Linked DNA regions of Homo sapiens: regions 1 and 3 are each linked to region 2. Evidence: promoter capture Hi-C in human tissues and cell types (Jung and others, 2019). All regions are on one chromosome and are shown on one strand. The core of a region is centred on a gene start or on the middle of the fragment in contact, and the rest is flanking DNA. Distances in the headings are between cores, read along the strand shown.

Region 1 (2,700 bases), core at 44-2,543, 270 kb before region 2:
GCTCAGGCCTCCCTGGCAGCCTCCAGGAGTCCCACCCTGACTCCCCAGACTCCTGAGGGCCTCCTCCCACCCGGGCTTCTTAGGGTGCAGGCCAAGGACCCTCCTCTGGGCCTGGGAGATGTGCTGACCAGGCAGGGTCTATAGGCCTGGGCCAGCCTCTTGGCCTCCCTGTCTGCCTTCACCCAGGCCTCAGTTTACCCCACAGTAAAGTAGCAGTTTGACTAGGGAGGCGCTGTTCCCAGGGCCCTTTCGCAGAGGACCAACCTAAGATCGCTATCTTTCAGAGAAAGTGAAACCTGGTCCCCAACTGTCAAGGCGGCAACTCCCCCTCCCCGGCTTCCCCTCTGAGCTCACAGCTTCCCCATCTCCTCCTTCCCCCATCCCGCCCCCTCGACAGCTAATACTTGGAATCAGACCTTCATCTTTGCTTTTTCCTTCAGAGGTCTTTTCCTTTTATGTCCATGCTGGCAGCAACCCTGTGAGGTGGGCTGGGAAAGGCTTTTCTCCTCCTCATTTTATAGTTGTGGGTCTCTGAGGCCCAGAGAGGTTAAGTGACTTGCCTCAGGTCACACAGCACCTCAGCAGGCTTGAACCCTGGCCTCCTGTTTCTCTTGCTCCAAGTGTCCAGTTCTCCCCAGTGGAGCCTGCCTACAAAGACAAGGCCTGGCTTTGGGGAGTGGGCCTGGCAGAGGGTGCACGATGGGGGAAAGGAGACCGTCGGGAGCCGGGCTGGGGGATGCTGGTCCTGGGGCCTGAACCACAATCTCGGGGCTGCCAGCCTGCGTCTGGCTCTGTGCCCAGAGCCCGGTGGTTTCCGCTCACAGATGTCCCAACAGCCCCGGCGAGAGGGCAGGAAGGGCACTCAAGAAGGAAGATGTCTCGCTCCCCTCAGCCCCCAACCACCGTGTCCTGTGAGGCCAATGGCTCCTGGGCCAAGACTGGCCTGGGGCCTCCAGAGGCCCAGCTCGAAGTCCCTCCTGCCCATCCCTGGCCCAGTTCCCTGAAGATGGCATGGACCCTTTTCCTCCCCACTCACCCTAGGAAGGCTGAGGCTGCGGTTTTACATCATCCTTGGGCGTAGGGCTGACCTCGAAGAACGAATTCGAAGAAAACAGGAGGAGGAGCGGGCATACACCGCGCCCTGCGCCCATTGGCCGCCCGTGGAAATTTTGGTTTTTGGGGTCATGTTCCCAGAAGGCCTGCCCTCCCCCCTCCCCATCCCCACCCACCTCATGAGGTGTTGGCCAATCGCCCCAGCGGGCATAAAGTGGCTGCCAGCCTGCAGGGCTCCCAGCCGAGAGGTGTCACCCCCAGCGGGCGCGGGCCGGAGCACGGGCACCCAGCATGGGGGTACTGCTCACACAGAGGACGCTGCTCAGTAAGTACTTCCTTCCTCCCCGCCAGAACCCGCCTGCTGGGTCTGCCCACGGGTGCCGGTGGGGAGCAGAGGCACCCTCTGCCCTCCGGGAACTGGGGAGGCCAGGCGCCAGGCAGAAGGATGCTGAGAAGGGGAGAGAGCCAGGAGGTCAGGCAGAGAGAGTGGTCCACTGAGAACCTGGCATCTCCACAGGTAGAGAAGGGGCATCCCTGGAAGGCTTCCAGGGGGAGGTGATGTCAAGATGTAGAGGCAACTCTGGGAACCAGGGGGTGAGAGAATAGGATGGGCAAAGAGGCTGGGCAGGAGAGGGAGGCTCAGAAGCTGGGCAGGGAAGTGGTGTGAGGTGTGGAGGGGTTGTGGGGCCTCCAGCTTGCCCGGGATGAATAGAAAGTCAGCCAGGCCTGGGGGCCCCAGGGCCCACACAATCACACAGCATGCACAGCCACACCCACATGGCCACATGCGCACACAGCCATATGACGTCATCTACAGCCCTGGATCTCACCAGCCCAGGAACCCCCACATGCAGACCAGAGTCCCCATGGTGAACGGAACAGGTCTCCCTCACGCCGCACACAGACCCAGATGCACAGCCACACAGAAACCCCAGTCCCACGTGCGCTGCCACAGGCACAGGCCCCTGCCAGAGCCCGGCAGCAGATACCTGGGGAGGCGGCGAGGGTGCCGTGGGGTCGCTAAGCCTGGGTGCCTGGCCCCTTGGCCCTCCCCAACAGCCAGTCTTCCCCAAAGGGCCGGATGGTTCTTAGGACGGGAACGATGGTGTCACTGCCTTCCGGGCCATTGCGCCATAGGCCCCTTCCGACCACGTGGCTGCCGGTGCCCCGTTGGGGGTGGTGGTGAGCGGTAACTGTACCCGCCCCCAACACCTTCTGACAGGCTCACAGCATCCCTGGTGGGCCTGACAGAAGGAGCCACTTATGGAGAGAGGAGGGAGGCAAGAGAGGTCAGGGGAGAGCCCTGGCCTTGTGTGACCTGAGTAGGACCTTCTCCTGAGACTTGGTTTACCTGTCAGGAAAGTGGGGACATGGACTGGAAGGTCTTCCACATCTGTTCCAGGCTGCACCTCTGGTTGAAAAGGCAGCCTCTCCTGGTTCTAGACAGAGCTGAGGACACAAGCTGCTCCCGGGCTGCCTGCCCTGAAGCCCTCTCAGGCCCATCTACCTGGATGGCCAGAGCAGCTGACAAGGCAGGTCCTAGGGCAGTGGCCGGTCTTTAGCCCAGTGGTCTTGCAGGGAGCCAGTCCCACCTTGCAGAGAGTCAGCTCCCGAGGTTAGAACCGTGCTGTAGGCAGGACTGGGATC
Region 2 (2,700 bases), core at 21-2,520:
TGCAGCAGGCAGCAGCACCAGCCCAAGCTGGGACTGGTCCAGTTTAACTTACCTGTAGATGACGGCAGGGATGCGCTTCCAGGACCTGAAACTTGATACACTTTCCAGTTCTTTGTCAGTGATCCAGGCAGGCACTATGAGCTCTTGAGGATAGCTACCACATAATCTAAAGAGAAGATGAGAAGTGGGGAGAGTCAAGGGGATAAGAGAGGGAGAGAGAAAACGGGAGAGAGAGAGAGACACTAGGTGAGCCAGCATAAGGATGATGATCTCACTGCCACAGAACCAGTTAAAGGCAATGAGGCGCTTTATTCGAGTTTTGGACTCCTCAACAGAATGGGTTACCATAAGTGTGTTTTGTTTTGTTTTGTTGCCTTAAATGTTTACTTATGTGTATACAACAAATGATACTATCTTGAATTGTTCCACTTGATGCTACCTTTTGGGAATCTGGCAATCTTAACTATCAATGAAAAAAAGGGGAGTCGAGGGTCAGCTCTTTATACTCCATTACAACTCTTCTGCTGTAACAAGTACATAGGTTATTTCTAACTACATGAGCGCCCAGTCCAATTACAGAACTGAGAGTCCGTGTCAGTTCTACCAGACCCTCAGGGAAGGAAAAAAGCCCACAATTGCAAGTTTCCAGAGACTTCACAGGATTAACTCATTCTTTGATTTGAACCAAACAGGGTGTCATCCTTATAGGTAACAGGTGCAGCCATGGGTATGCAAAACCAACACAAGCCAGTCTATCTGCATACACAGCCTCAGTCCCATTGAACCAGGTTAGTAATGTGACTAAGCTATTAACCATAATTTCCATAAAACATACTTCAGAACAAATTATACTGGGGGCGGGGGGATAAGCTTTCTTTTAATTAGGGAAGATCCCAGCTACAGTCAAGCCGGTATCCTAGGAAGCAATACTTCCGATAGATTTTTACTTACAGGACAATGTCTCTCTCTGGATAATCCAATCTTCTTTTTTCAATAGTGAAGGCAATAAGGCCTTTAATCCAAATCCTAAAACACACAAACTCCACCAACACCACCAACCCCCTGCCCTAGCCTATCCTATACATAGCAGAAAGCGCAGAAAAACACAAAATGGCTTAGGATTTGGGGGTTTTGATCATTTTGCACTAAATCTCTCCTCAATTTCCAGAAGAGGAGACTTCTGGAATTTTCAGGAATTTAAAAGCCACTGAACAAAAGAGAATGGCTATGACTAAGAGTAGCTATACAAACTTCCTAACACCTATTCACAAACTCCTAAAAATAAGCTGGGAGCCAGTAATGATGGTTAATATCTAACCATGAATCTCATTCCCTTTATTATGTATTAAACTCAAGAGTAAACTTGGCTCTCACTCTTCTACCTTTGTAGTAGGAAGAACTTTCAACATCCTGTTGTTTCCCACCACCCCCCATTTTGTTTTATGGTGGTGATAACATCCTAAAGACTGGTTCTGAGGTATAACTGGTAAACTCCTTGAGACAGTTGTTCTGTTACCCGGGCTAGAGAGCAGTGGAGCGGTCATGGCTCACAGCAGCCTCGACCTCCTGGGCTCAAACAACTCTTCTACTTCAGCCTCCCCAGTAGCTGGGACTACAGGCATGCACCACCATGCCCAACTAATTTTTTTTTCTTTGAGATGGAGTCTCGCTCTGTCGCCCAGGCTGGAATGCAGTGGCATGATCTCGGTTCATTGCAAGCTCCACCTCCCGGGTTCACGCCATTCTCCTGCCTCAGTCTCCTGAGTAGCTGGGACTACAGGCGCCCGCCACCACGCTGGCTAATTTTTTTGTATTTTTAGTAGAGACGGGGTTTCACTGTGTTAGCCAGGATGGTCTCGATCTCCTGAGCTCGTGATCCACCCGCCTCGGCCTCCCAAAGTGCTGGGATTAGAGGAATGAGCCACCATGCCTGGCCAAATTTTTAAGAAATTTTCTGTAGAGATGAGGTCTCACTATGTTGCCCAGCCTAGTCTCAAACTCCTGGGCTTAATCAATCCTCTATCTTGGCCTCTCAAGAAGTTAATTTTTAAAAGCCGAATTGGGGATTATTTTCCAACAAGTCTGTCTTAATTCACAGTTTTTTTTTACTTGATCTAATTTTCTAAACATTCTGTTCATTGTCCTATAGGTACTACACTCCCAGTAGTCAGCTCTTCAGTATGCACTACCTACTCACTTGTGGATAAACAATTTCCAGTATAGGTTACACTCAGGAAAGCCTAATGCAGCCACAGGCTCTCTGAGGCCGCCCCCTCATCCAGCATTCACCCTCCTTCTTTGCTTTGACTCATCACTGAGAACAGGCAAAAGTATAAAAAGTCTGCAGCTCCAACTCTTCAAAACACCCTGGGTTCTCAACTCCCTGGAGAAGGTCCACATTAAGAACTGTGTATAGCAATTAGCTATAGCTTTTCCAGTGAAAACTCTGACGGCTAGCCACAAACAGACCAGGAAAATGCCCGTCATAATTTGAGACAGCTAAGAGGACCGCAGAATGATTAATGATGCAGGGAAACGTAGGAGAAGGATATATATATTTTTTTTTTTTATTTTTTTTATTTTTTAAGACAAAGTCTCGCTCGGTTGCCCAGGCTGGAGTGCAGTGGCACAATCTCAGCTCACTGCAAGCTCCGCTTCCCAGGTTCATGCCATTCTCCCGCCTCAGCCTCCCCAGTAGCT
Region 3 (2,700 bases), core at 68-2,567, 330 kb before region 2:
CTGTAAAATGGGACTAATAATGGTGTATACCTCATTGCTAAGAGATTACAAGACATGTTGCAACCAATTTGGAAAACAGTTTGCCAGTTCCTCGAAAGGTTAAACAGTTGCCATATGACCCAGCAATTCCACTCTTCCTTATCTATCCAAGAGAAATGTAAACATAAGGCCCCCACACAAAAGCTTGTACCTGAATGGTCAGAGCAGCATTATTCATAATGGCTAAAAACTAGAAACACGCGAATGACCATCACTGATGAATGGAAAAACAAAATCTGGTATAGTCCCAGCTCCCAGGAGGGGCAGTATAGGTCTTTCATGGCGGTGTGGGCCTATCCCAGGAAAGGGAGGGGTGGAGTCAGACATACCTGGGGCAGATGTGAATCCAGAAGCACTGATACATGCTACAATGTGGATGAAACTTGAAAATGTTCAAGAGAAAGAATCCAGACATAAAAGGCCATATATTGTATAATTCCATTTATATGAAATATCCAGAAAAGGGACATCTATAGAAACAGGAAGCAGATTAGTGGTTGCCAGGGACTGGGGGAGCCAGGATGCGGAGTGACTGCTAATTGGTAGGAGTTTCTTTTTGGGGTGATGAAAATGTTCTAAAATTAGAATGTTGTGATGGCTGCACAACTCTGTAAATATGCTAAAAATCATTGTACACTTTAAACGTGAATTTATGGTATGTTTATGTTCCATAAAACTGCTGGGGAAAAGACTACAGGAGAAAGTAGGTAGAGCTTCGGGCGTGCGTGGCTCAGTAAACGCTGGTGATTATTAATAATTAGGTCTCACGAGGTAATTTAAAGCCCCAGAAGCAGTGAGTGCAATGGGACTGCCAGACTTCTGGCTCAGGCTGGGCCTTTAAGCCGCTCTGCGTCCCTGAACTCACTTGGGCCTCCTCAGAGTTCCTCATAAATGAATGGGGCAAACAATCCCTACCACGTCCTTGGGGTCTCGCAGGGAGCGGGGCTCAGGAGGCAGATGAGGAATCCATGGAGGAAGCCCTGGGCCTCCGGCTCGCGCTCTGCAGTAGGTGACAGGCCCCGCTTGGAGCCAACCCGGAAAGGCCCGAGCTCGTCCAGGTGAGTTCTTGTGATTGGCAGCCCGGAGGAGGGCGGGGAGGGCTGCGGTGACGGCTGCCCCGCCCCCTCACTTCGGGCTTGTTGGCGCCCGCCGGGGGAGGGTGGGCGGGGCCCGGGGTCCGCGGCGCCCATTGGGCGTGGGGGGAGAGCTCCGGGGTGGGCCTGGAGCCCCGCCCCCCGGCCTTGCGGCGGCCAATAGGCGCCGCGCGTGGGCGGGGCGTCGGCGGCAGCAGGGCGGCTGAGGTGGCCGCTGGAGCTCAGGCGGCGGGCGCGGCTGGGATGGCGAAGAGCAACGGAGAGAATGGGCCGCGCGCGCCCGCGGCCGGGGAAAGCCTGTCGGGAACCCGGGAGAGCCTGGCCCAGGGCCCCGACGCCGCAACCACCGACGAACTCAGCTCTCTCGGGTCTGACTCGGAGGCCAACGGCTTCGCCGAGCGCCGCATCGACAAGTTCGGCTTCATCGTGGGCTCGCAGGGCGCCGAGGGCGCGTGAGTAGCGCCGGGGGTCGGGACTGAGCGCGCCACCCACGCGAGGGGCCTCGACACGGACGGAGGCGCCCTCGGGACTTGCCGACACGTCCCCCTCCCAGGCAGGGACCACTAATCCCCGTTCCCTCCCCTGCCCCACCCCCACCACCCCTGCCTTCCTAGACCCGCCCCCTTCGCAGTCCTACTTCCGACCCAGGGGGCGGACGGGCCCACACCTCCACCCGCCACCTCCACCCTCCGGACAGACTGACCCGCTCCCAGGAAGGACCGACTGTGCCCTCCTTCCAGCCGTGGAACAGAATGACAGACTGCCCCAAACCCACCCCTGCCGCCAAGACCTTAGGGATGATTGTTTCTGCCACCCCGACAGGCTCCCAGATGGCTGGCGCCCCCCTCCATAGACACTCATTCTCCATCTTTCCCCCTCCCACAAACCCACAGACGCCCTTGTCTCCCCGCCTCACTGCCCCCACACCAGGAGACCTCAGACCGACTTCAGGACTGACTGCCCCGCCCCCACCCCTTCCCAGGACAGACTGACCCTTTCCTCGAGGCATACAGACCTCTGGATGGACAGACATTGGTCACCTCCCTCCCCTCAGCTCCATCCTGGGACAGACAGTCCCTTCTCCTCATGGAAGGGTCGGAGAAGGGCCCCCTATCCGCTCATACACAGCTTCCTCCACTGGCACTGGCAACAGGTGGGCAGGTACTCCCCCTTCCCAGCACGTACAGGGCGACAGGGAGCCCCACCACTAGGACAGACCATCAGCTCCAGCAGCCACAGGAGCCAGTAGATGGGCTCTGTGTATGTCCTGTGTATGTATGCGCCTCCTCCCAAGGGCAGATCTTGGGCGTGGGACGGGGGCAGGCAGGGAGACAGCAGGGTCCCTGCTCATATTAGCACCCCCCGATGTCCTATCCCGAGAGCACCCAGACACCCAGCTAGCAGACAGAGAAATGTGGGGCAGTGGAACAGCACCTTGCCTCCAAGCTGGGCCCCATGTTGCCCCACAGAATCCCCCGAGCCCAGGCCTCAGAGATCATGTGTACAGGCTGGCGGTCCCCTTAGGAAAGATGGACTCCATACCCCACTCCCATCCCAGCTGTCCTGT

Evidence for each region. Contacts are between HindIII fragments. The study calls those that stand out against the background at their distance.
Region 1: a contact is called between the fragment with the promoter of OSM here and a fragment that was not itself captured in region 2, in 1 of the 25 tissues and cell types used here (IMR-90 fibroblasts).
Region 3: a contact is called between the fragment with the promoter of TBC1D10A here and a fragment that was not itself captured in region 2, in 1 of the 25 tissues and cell types used here (dorsolateral prefrontal cortex).

What each region holds. Positions count from the first base shown.
Region 1 is chr22:30,265,444-30,268,143 of GRCh38, reverse strand. OSM (oncostatin M) reads left to right here and starts at 1,293. Exons shown (of 3, transcript NM_020530.6): 1 at 1,293-1,378. The coding sequence starts at 1,345. RefSeq lists enhancers at 1,890-1,989, 2,050-2,129. The HindIII fragment of the contact is 14,267 bases long and covers 1-2,700 here.
Region 2 is chr22:30,000,346-30,003,045 of GRCh38, reverse strand. It overlaps MTMR3 (myotubularin related protein 3), which reads right to left. Exons shown (of 20, transcript NM_021090.4): 9 at 53-166. Among named protein-coding and RNA genes, the nearest start is that of MIR6818, 5.4 kb to the left of the region's middle. The HindIII fragment of the contact is 4,025 bases long and covers 1-2,700 here.
Region 3 is chr22:30,325,558-30,328,257 of GRCh38, reverse strand. TBC1D10A (TBC1 domain family member 10A) reads left to right here and starts at 1,317. Exons shown (of 9, transcript NM_031937.3): 1 at 1,317-1,585. The coding sequence starts at 1,377. RefSeq lists silencers at 1,065-1,394, 1,695-1,744 and an enhancer at 1,961-2,700. The HindIII fragment of the contact is 10,227 bases long and covers 1-2,700 here.